2 separate regions of the Homo sapiens genome follow, and region 1 is linked to region 2. Evidence: promoter capture Hi-C in human tissues and cell types (Jung and others, 2019). All regions are on one chromosome and are shown on one strand. Each heading gives the region's core, a stretch centred on a gene start or on the middle of the fragment in contact. The rest is flanking DNA. Distances are from core to core; before and after follow the strand shown. Region 1 has its middle 22 kb from the start of SEC11C. Region 2 holds the start of GRP (gastrin releasing peptide).

Region 1 (5,649 bases), core at 711-3,210, 59 kb before region 2:
AAGCAGATAGAGGGTGACAGAGGACACTGCTTTTCAGATGGAAGTCAGAGGAGACCCCTCCAAGGAGGTGACATTAAGCAGAGTTCAAAGAAATGAGAGGGAGTGGAGCACGTAAATCCCGGGAAGCGCATTATAGCCAAGTGCAGAGGCCCCGAAAAGGGAGCGCTGTTGGCGGGCTAGAGGGTTCTCACACTTTAAGGAGTACACAGCCACCTGTCTTCTTCACTGCTGATGTGGACTCAGGAGGTTTGGGGTGAGCCTGACTACGCACTTCTAACATGCTCCCAGAGGATGCTCATGCTGCTGGTGCCCACTTTGCACAGTGAAATGTTAGAGGAGTCAAAAGGAGGCCAGTGATGTTTTAAAATGCACTCTTCAGTTTTACAAAAATGTTCTCTTTTCACCAAATACAATGATGTTGACATCCTTTCAATCAGGACTTACAAATCTACCTCATTCTTTTACGTTTGTTCAATTCTGATCTAAGAATTTAGTGGCCCTAAAAGTCACTTAACCACCGATGTGGCCTCCAGTGAGTTACTTAACTTCCCTCAGCCTCAGATGGAGGATAAGAACTGCACTTACCAAATGGGGCTGTCATGAGCAATAAGCCGCATGGTCCTTGACATGTCCACAGTATCCGCTCGGTAGACGTTCCCTATTGTTGCTCATGTTTTCCCTTTCAGTGTAAACCTGTGTCACGCCTGTATGGTTAATTTTCCTGAGTGAGCGCCTGGCTTGGTAAGGACCAGCAGGCGTGATCCGCTGGGAACAGCTTGCCCTTTAATCCTTTCTCTCTACTAAAATAGGCTATTGCAACAATAATGGACCTCATCCTGTTGAAATCAGCAAAGTGAAAGAAAAAAAGATTTACAGAATACTTTCTAAAAACATTATTCTCTTGTGCCCTTTAATACATTGTTTTCTTAAGAAAAAATGGATTTTTTTCCCCTTACCTAAAACTGGTATTTTAAAATGTTGGGTCAAAATCATATTATTTTATCATCTTCTTGGGCTTCTGTAGTTAAATTTTTAAAAAACTCTTATCATGGCTAAGCTTTTTGGTAATTCTTTGAACATGCCTAACATTCTGAAATGAGCTTTGCAAAGACACCTAAGAACCCTGACGGGGCTCAGCCAGTGCCATTGAATTGTGGATTTTAGTGACAAAGATGTCTTTTGACCTCCCTGATGCTGTTGGTCCTTATAAAATGGGAGCGATGGCAATTAATGTTGGATTGAAGTTCTTTTATCTGGGGCTCTCAGTTGTAGCCTCAGTGTCTGGAATGTATCAACACGAACCAAGGATGTGTCTGAGCAGACAAAATCAGCACTAGAACATCCAAGCTGCTTGCAGTTTATTCATCAGGTAGAACCTCTTATTGGGAGCTTCTCAGTGTTCATGTGACACATTTCTCATGTGGTTACACAACTGCTTTTCCACTTTGCAACAGCTTAGAAGCATCAGAGTAGAGGGTTTCTGGTAGACAATGGCCAGACAGGTAATACCCACTGAGGAGGAAGAATACAAACTATAAAAAACAGATGCAAGGATTTCAGGATGCTGCCTGGTGTATCCACAAAGGCGACACTGTGTTATAAGAAGACACTTAGGAAGAAGTTAAATGGCGTTTGCCATACTGCATTTGAGATCAATTTAGGTTTTCATCCAGACTGGCAAGTTTCTACTACGGGGTAGGGTGAGCTTCAGTTTTTTCAAGAGGTGAGTGGTGGAACCTCTGGTTGATTTCCTAAGCCACAGGCCTGAGTCCTGCTCTTCTACCCCTTTACCCCTTGACAATTAATATGTTAACATTATGCAAATGCTAGAAAAATAGAGCTCCTGCAGACATGCACAAACACTCCAACAACCAGACTGTGGACACTAATCCGCCTGTCTATTGAGATTTTGGACCTGCCACTGTCCCTGCAAGTCTGGGCAAATGAAGCATTGTTGGCAAGAGGAAGAAGCCTAACCTTTCTAAGTTAGCAAGGTAAGAGAATCTCTAATTTAGAGGAAGCAAACTTGGGCATCTGTTCTTTAAAAAAACCTCCCTAGGTTACTAATGTGTGGTCAGTATTGAGAACCACCGAGAAACAGACGTCTGCACACATTAGTTGAGAATAAATGTGATTAGGATGCTTGACTGTTCACATCTTCCTTCTCGGCTTCATGAAGTTATTTTCAGATTGCATAAGGAAAAAACAGAAACACACTGCATCTATGTGTCATCCTCTCACCACCATTTCCCCCACTAAGATGATGCTAACCTCTGAATGGTCACTTGAGTTCTAGGTGAGCCTTCATCTTACAAAGTAGCCTTTGGCCCAGGGCACTGGGCGATCAACTTAGTCTCATCCTGAGATTCTGGGCTGAGATCCATCCTTTACCACTTGTGTTCATCAGGTTCTCTTCATTTCTTTTCTTTTTTTTTTGAGTCAGAGTCTCGCTTTGTTGCCCAGGCTGGAGTGCAGTGGCGCGATCTTGGCTCACTGCAAGCTCCACCGCCCGGGTTCATGCCCATTCTCCTGCCTCAGCCTCCCGAGTAGCTGGGACTACAGGCACTTGCCACCATGCCCAGCTAATTTTTTATATTTTTAGTAGAGATGAGTTTTCACCGTGTTAGCCAGGATGGTCTCAATCCCCCGATCTCGTGATCCGCCCACCTTGACCTCCCAAAGTGCTGGGATTACAGGCGTGAGCCACTGCACCCGGCCAGGTTCTCTTCATTTCAAATGAGGAGTATGGGGTGGGGTAGGATAGAAGGAGGAGTTGGGAGTCACACAATGATTTAAGCCCTGCCTCAACTTACCAAACAGGGAATCTTTAACAAATTCAGACTCAGTTTCCCTATCTCCAGAATTAGCATCAGGGCAGGTCAAGAGTTTATTGGATGCCTGGATTTAATCAAACAGAGCTTTACTATTTCTTCTTCAAGGTCACTTGAGTTTGAGCACTTAGAATTAATTAAAGCCTCCCAATCCTCTTGAACACTCTTCTCTGTTGTCTGTGGTCATAAAATTCTACTCAGATTTTCTCTGAATTTTAAATCTGCCCGCCTAGATTGTTGCAGACATATCCTATGGCAGGGACATTTTTTCCCCAGGGACCTTGCTTTTAGCTGCATGAAGCTTCAGGATGGTGCAGGGGGACAGAAACCTCTTTTACACTGAGTCTTGTTTCTGCGCCAGTTCTGTGCCGGCGGGGAGCGAACGCTACCTACACACGTGCTGTGGCCAGGCCTTCTTCTGTAGGATTCCCTCTGGCCTCCCTCTGTTCTTCATTCCATCACCCAAACACTGTCTGTCATCTGCCTCTTCTCAGGTTTAATGATTTCCCTACTAGTGTTTAGCTTCTGCCATACTGCAGGATATTTTCTTTAATAGGCCTTATTTTTTAGAGCAGTTTTAGGTTCATAGCAAAATTGAATGGCAAGTATAGAGGTTTCCCATATACCTCCTACCCCTACATAGGCACAGCCTCTACTACTACTTACCACCCCACTAGAGTGATTCATTTGTTACAATCAATGAACCTACACTGATGCATCATTATCACCCAAAGTCCATAGTTAACATTGAGATCCACTCGTCGTGCTATACATTCTATGGATTGGGACAAATGTGTAATGACATCTATCCTCCATCATAGCACCATACGGAATAGAGTCATGGCCATAAAAAATTCCCTATGCTTCACCTATTCAGCCCTCCCTACCTTCAACCACCGATTATTTTTACTGTCTCCAGAGTTTTCCCTTTTCCAGTATGTCATATAGTTGGAATCATGGTATGTAGCCTTTTCAGTTAGGCTTTTTTTTTTTCCACTTAGTAATGTACATTTAAGTTTTCTCTATGTATTTTTTCTTTTTTTGTTTGAGGCAGAGTCTTGCTCTGTCACCCAGGCTGGAGTGCAGTGGCACAACCTCAGTGGTGCGGGTTTTTGTATGGACATCAGTTTTCAGACTCACTTGGGTAAATACCAAGAAACAATCCACGATTGGTGGATCATATGGTGACTGTGTCTAGTTTCGTAAGAAACGGCCACACTGTCTTCCCAAGCAGGTGTACCATTTTGCATTCCCACCAGCGATGAATCAGCTTTTGTTGCTCTACATCCTCTCCATAATTTGGTGTTCTCAGTGTTTTGGATTTTGGCCATTCTAATAGGTATGTCATGGTAGCTCATTGTTTTAATTTGCATTTCCCTAATGACATATGATGTTGAACATCTTTTCATATTTATTTGCCATCTGTATACCTTCTTTGGTGAGGTGTCTGTTCAGGTCTTTTGCCCTTTTTTTTGAGACAAAGTCTCACTCAGGCTGGAGTGCAGTGGTACCAAGTAGCTGGGATTACAGGTGCCTTCCACCACGCCCGGCTAATTTTTGTATTTTTAGTAGAGACAGGGTTTCACCATGTTGGCCAGGCTGGCCTCAAACCCCTGACCTCAAGTGATCCGCCTGCCTCGGCCTCCCCTGGGATAATAGGCCTAAGCCACCATGCCTGGCCCCATTTTTAAATAGGGTTATTTTCTTACTGTTGAGTTTTAAGAGTTCCTTGTATATTTGGAATAATAGTCCTTTTTCAGATGTGTCTTTTGCATGTATATTCTCCCAGTCTGTTGCTGGTCTCATTCTCTTAACATTGTCTTTTGCAGAGCAGAGGTTTTTAAATTTTAATGGAGTCTTGCTTACCAATTATCTCTTTAGTGGATCATACCTTTAGGGTTATATCTAAAAAGTCATCACCATGTCCAAGGTTACCTAGATTTTCTCCTGTGTTATCTTCTAGGAGTTTATAGTTTTGTGTTTTACACTTAGGACTGTGATGTATTTTGAGTTAATTTTTATAGGTGGAAGATCAGTGTCTAGATTGTTTTTGCATGTGGACGTCTAGTTCTTCCAACACCATTTGTTAAAAAGACTATCTTTTCTCCACTGTATTGCTTTTGCTCCTTTGTCAAAGATCAGTTGGTTATATTTATATGGATTTCTGAGCTGTCTATTCTGTTCTATTGATCAATTTGTCCATTCTTTTACCAATACTACCTCGTCTTGATTACTGTAGCTTTATAGTAAGTCCTCAAGTCGGGTAGTGTCAGTCTTCCAGCTTGCATTTTTTCCTTAAATATTGTATTGGCTATTCTAGGTCTTTTGCCTCTCTCTATAAACTTCAGAATTCGTTTGTCTATACCCACATCATAGCATTTTTATTAAGTGTTTATGTCTGGAGAAAACATGCAACTTCCATTGCCATATTCCTTTGTAAGTCTCATTTCTCAAACTCATCTATGAGGTTGAATTCCTCTCTTTTCAAAAATCTCAACTTAATTTTTATCTGCTTTCCCTGATTTGTGCAATGGTATAGAAACGCCTGAGTTTCTTCCTCTCCCTGAGAATTATTGGGAGCTTCCTCTGTTATTTTTCTGTTTCACTGGACATGCCTGATATCCTTTCCAGCATCTGGTTAATTTCTTGTGTCTGGGTACACATTCCCCCTCCCTCTTGGTTATCAGTTTCAACCTCTCTTGATTCGATCAGTGGATTTAAAGGCAGATGGATTGATTTTGACTTCTCACTAAAGAAGGAACAGAGCCTAACAGAATCAGCCTGCCATTTAGAGCTCCTCCTACCTGGTGGCACAAGG
Region 2 (5,167 bases), core at 2,658-5,157:
CCTGAACTCAGCCATGCATGGTAGCTCACGCCTGTAACTCCAGCACTTTGCAGGGCCAAGGTGGGAGGATAGCTTGAGCCCAGGAGTTCAAGACCAGCCTGGACAACATGGTGAAACCCCATTTCCACAAAAAATACAAAACCTAGCCAGCCATGGTGGCATGCACCTGTAGTGTCAGCTACTCAGAAGGCTGAGGTGGGAGAATCACTTGAGTCCGGGAAGTCAAGGCTGCAGTGAGCCATGATTGTACCACTGCACTCCAGTCTGGGCAACAGAGGGAGAGCTTGTCTCAAAACAAAAACAAACCCCCAAATCACAAAATACCCCTGAGCTCCATGGGATAAAATAATTTTACAAGTGCACTCGGTGATGAACTATCCATGGTCACTGAGCTAAAAGGTCACAGCATAAATCATGGAATATCAGGCACTAGGTTGGTTCTGGTAGAGTTTCTCAGCTATCCGTCAAACTCCATGGACTCTTTCTTCCACAGTGATGCAATCAGAGCCAGGCATAACTGATTATTAAGACTGCAACCCCCAATCTCTCTTGCAGTTAGCTATGACCATGTGGTTGACTTTTTACTAATGAAACACGAGCAGAAGAGATAAATGCTTCATTTTGGCTGGTGTATTAAGAGAGCGGGCGTGCCTCCTCCATCTTCCCCTTTTTGGCACCTGCAACCCAAGCTATGCAGACAGATAGGAAAGTGCTCATCACATGTGATCCATAGACCAGCTGCTCCTCCCAAACTATTTGTTTCCCATCCACAATGAGATAAAGATCTTGTACTAGGACACAAGTCAATAACATCTCTACACACATTGTTTAGTACAGCTGACTTTTTTTTTTTTTCATAGCAAGATGCTCTCGATGAAGGAAGCCGTACATTGACTTGCATTCTAATGCAAGCTCCTTCTCTCCCTGCAGGCCAGCCCTTTGAGTAGTGCTGCTGTAGGGAATGGTAGAGACCCCAGGTGGTGTGAACCCAGGTTTCTGATTATCAATGTGGAACAGAGCTGCCTGCCAACCTGGAACACCTGCCCTGGACAGAAAAGAGAAATAGACTTCTCTTTTGAATGGGTCATTGCATTGCAAGGTCTCTTTCTCATAGAGTTTAGCTTTCCCCTAACTATGTCAGTGGGGTTAATCATATTTACCCAGCTGTCTGTAGTGAGGATTTTAAGAGGTGTATGAGAGGACACCCAGCCAGGATCTACTGGGGCTTATTCATATCAACTGAATCAAACATGCAAAGGTTCCATTCTCTAACTGGAAACAGTCCACTGTCTTTTCTGGTTAGAAGTTTGGACTCAGCCTCCTTTTCCTGGAGGACAATGTATCGATTCAAATCTCTTGAGTCCCATCTTTGTGCCTAAGACTGGGCCAGGCACTGTGGAGGCAGTATCGAGCCAGATGACATGGGTGCTGTCCTTACAGGGTGCTACAGCAAGTCATGTGGCCCAGCCGTAGTCTGCAGGCAGGAAACCTGTAGGCTGGGGTGGCCTTGGAGCAAGAGCTAAGGTGAATGGAGGGGCCTAGGTATCTCCTGGCGTGTAATGGACACAAGAAACAGTGTTGCCTGAATTAGCAGAAGTGTTGTGCTTTCTAAACAATTATTTCTACACTTGAATGTCTTTACAGTGGCTTCCCCTTAGTTTCATGGGGATGGGAGGAGGTGGAGGATTTCATTTGAAAGATTCTAAAATAATCTTGGTTAAACTAAAGAGAAAGAGCATTTTTCTACAACTTAATTTGGAGAGATAAGGGTTTAATGCGCCTCCAAAGATCCACGGTTGCAGAAGGCATTTCTTAGACCTGGGCATTTCTTAGGTTTGTTGTTCATTCGCCAAATACTTATCAAGCACCACTATGATCCAGGTGCTCTGCAGACACACAGAGGAACAATACCAAGTCCCTGTGTTGAAGCAAGCTCACTGTGTGGGAGGCAGCACGCCTAGGGATGATCAGTTGCCTGCCAATGGAACACTTGCCTACTGACAGAGCCTGGGAACGGAATGCAGAGAGGCTGGGAACCCGGGAGGGATGGAGCCCAGGCCAGTCTGTGGACCTTTTTCTTTTGATTTTCACTTAGCTCACTCACTGAGGATAGTATTATTGTATTTGGTTGGCTACCAAACTATTAATGATCTTAAAATTGACTTTTTTTCTCTTAGACCCAGACACATGCATGAAAATACTCTTCAGATCCAAGAGTACTCAGTCATGCAATGTGAGTGTGTAATCACTTAAGAATATATTGAACACCAAGCACAGTGGCTCATGCCTGTAATCCCAGCACTTTGGGAGGCCACGGCTCACTTGAGGTCAGAAGTTCAAGACCAGCCTGGCCAACATGGTGAAAACTCATCTCTACTAAAAATACAAAATTAGCCAGACGTGGTGGTGCATGCCTGTGATGTCAGCTACTCCACAGGCGGAGACAGGAGAATCACTTGAGCCGGGAAGGCAGAGGTTGCAGTGAGCCCAGATTACGCCATTGCACTCCAGTCTGGGTGACAGAGCAAGACTCTGTCTCAAAAAAAAAAAAAAAAAAAAAAGAAGAAGAAGAATGTATTGAATCAGCAGATACTCAGACACAAGTGTATGTTTTCAACTTTATCAATATCAATATATCAATATCAACACCATGTTGACATGGAACACTAAAGACCCAACAGGGAGGCAATTAACAAGCATTTGAGGAGGAATAGACCTCACCTATTCCAACCACACGGCCAACTCTGGCAGCCAAAACGTGGGCAACAGCATCCTACCAGCTTCTATTTATTGTTGCATTGCTATGGTGCTGATCCCCTTTGTATCCATGGTATTTAGAACCTCGGGGATTGGGCTGGTGACCATTCTTTAGATCTGAGAACAGAAGGAGCAGAGGAACGTTGAGCAACTCTAGAGGGGTGTGTATGTGGCAGTTTAGGGACAGTTTGAGCTTTCAGGTAGAGGCAGCCTAGGGAAACTGGCATAAAGCAGTTTCTTTCTCTATTCCATGGAAGTTGCATGCTTGTGAAAAGGGCCAGCTATCTTCTGTCTTGCCATACAAGTGGGCAGAGCTGCCTGGGAATACCAGGTGGGTTAAGGATACTGCCCTTAACCTTAAGGTGGAGGGCAGCAGAGGGGGAGAGAGAGACAGAGAGAGAGAGAGATTGGGGAGGAGGGGAGAGAGAGAGGGATGGGAAGGGGAGGAGAAGAGAGAAGGGGAGTGGAGGGGAGGGGAGGGTATGGGAGTGGAGAGGAGGGGAAGGGAGGGGAGAGGAGGGGAGAGGAGGGGAAGGGAGGGGAGAGGAGGGGAGAGGAGGGGAGAGGAGGGGAGGAGATCTGCAAGAAAGAGGCAAGGTCCAGAAAAAGAGAGAGAGATCTGCAAGGAGGCAAGGTTCCAAAATCTATGGGCTGGGACAGCAAAGATGTGGCCTACGAAGAGAAAGGTCTGGAGAATCAGAAGGCCTTCAAATGGTGGTTCCAAATCCCTCCAGCAAAGCCCATCCATCTTTAGAGCTCACCCGTCTCCAGCTACACCCCCCACCCCTCCCGGCCCAGATCAGGCAGCGGGGTCGCCCTCTCCAGGACTCTCAAGGCAGCTAAGGCTGGAGGCGCCGGCGAGCCTGGAGAGGGAGGAGTTCACTAAATTGTGTTGGATGGAAGGCGTCGAGGACCGGAGGAATTAATCCGATGTGGGGAAGGCGGACGGGGCTACGAGGAAAAAAGAGGGGGCAATGTACACTCAGCCTTTTCATCACTCGGCGGGGAGATGGATGGTTTTCCGGACCGGGCGTCCCAGCGCCCCGGTTAGCTATAGGGAGACGTCAGAGCGCTCTGGTCCGCGATAGAAGAGCCCCCCAGCCCCCCCGCCCGGGCTTCCATATAAAGTAGGGGCCCTAGTGGAGGCCGCAGCAGTAGCACCAGCGGCTGCGGCGGCGGAGCTCCTCCGAGGTCCGGGTCACCAGTCTCTGCTCTTCCCAGCCTCTCCGGCGCGCTCCAAGGGCTTCCCGTCGGGACCATGCGCGGCCGTGAGCTCCCGCTGGTCCTGCTGGCGCTGGTCCTCTGCCTGGCGCCCCGGGGGCGAGCGGTCCCGCTGCCTGCGGGCGGAGGGACCGTGCTGACCAAGATGTACCCGCGCGGCAACCACTGGGCGGTGGGTGAGTGTCCTGGCCGCGGGAGCCGCGCGCTTGTCCTCCTCTGGATCAGCCAGCCGGAGGGGACCTGTCTCCCCATTTCTTTGCGTTTCCCTGGCCCAGCTTTGGGAGCTGGGTTTGTTGTGACCTTTCTATCGGCAAACACCTTCCCCGTTCTCCTAAAACTCCACCCCACCTTTCCCCATTCTAGGGAGCCCATGAGTCCCTAGTCAGCCGCAGGCTGGTCCGCTGATCCTTTCCCGCTCGCTTCCAGCCTGTCTTCCCCAGGGCACCCGAGCTCCCAACAGCCAACCCCGGTGCAGATCACCTTCCCTCTGCGCCCATCCTACATCTCCTTTTGTCCGCCTAGTCTCAACCTGTCTGGCACGGTACTCTCCTAGAATAATCTTGGGGAGCGTTGTCCCTTGAAAGCATCTCAGAACCCTGGTCCAGCTCGGTGGCCTCAACAGCGACTGGCATGGGCTGAAATCTAAGCTGCGCCTATGCTCCCCGCAAAGCCACAGGTGTGGGGACCTAGGGTGCAGCGCTCCCGCCCCGGGTTTCACATCTGTTCAGTGCGCAGTGCCCTGAATCCCGCCTGTCTGTGACTCTCTGGAGTTTCCTCAGTCCTTCTCTTCGCTTTGCAGCGATATTCTTTTCCCTGCCCTTTTGCCCTCCCTCTTTCCAGCCAGCAGGCTCTGAGCTTGGGGAATCTCGCCTGCTCTCCAAGCTCATCCCGATCTCTCTGCCCCTCTGAGCTCCGCTCTTTCTCCGCCCTTCTTGACCCACGACTTCGCCCTTTCCCCTCGCTCCTTTCCCATTCCCTCTGCAACAGGTCCTGCTCTCTAGGCACCGGCTTGGAGGCTCCCTCGCCATGGCCCCTAGAACCCAGGCGGAGAGGACGGCCGCGCTGCGGGTGCGGAGGGCGCCTGCGGGTGGGGTCAGGATTCCGCCCTGCGCGCACTCGCTGCTTTCGCTCAGCTGGGAGGCAGGAAGCGCCTGGCAGCCTCGGCTCACCCAGCATCACCCCAGGGCTC

What was found. Contacts are between HindIII fragments. The study calls those that stand out against the background at their distance.
Region 1: a fragment that was not itself captured here is called in contact with the fragment with the promoter of GRP in region 2 in 1 of the 25 tissues and cell types used here (liver).

What each region holds. Positions count from the first base shown.
Region 1 is chr18:59,159,551-59,165,199 of GRCh38, forward strand. No RefSeq gene overlaps it. Among named protein-coding and RNA genes, the nearest start is that of SEC11C, 22 kb to the left of the region's middle. The HindIII fragment of the contact is 5,175 bases long and covers 1-4,548 here.
Region 2 is chr18:59,216,251-59,221,417 of GRCh38, forward strand. GRP (gastrin releasing peptide) reads left to right here and starts at 3,908. Exons shown (of 3, transcript NM_002091.5): 1 at 3,908-4,154. The coding sequence starts at 4,016. RefSeq lists an enhancer at 3,128-3,742. The HindIII fragment of the contact is 15,677 bases long and covers 1-5,167 here.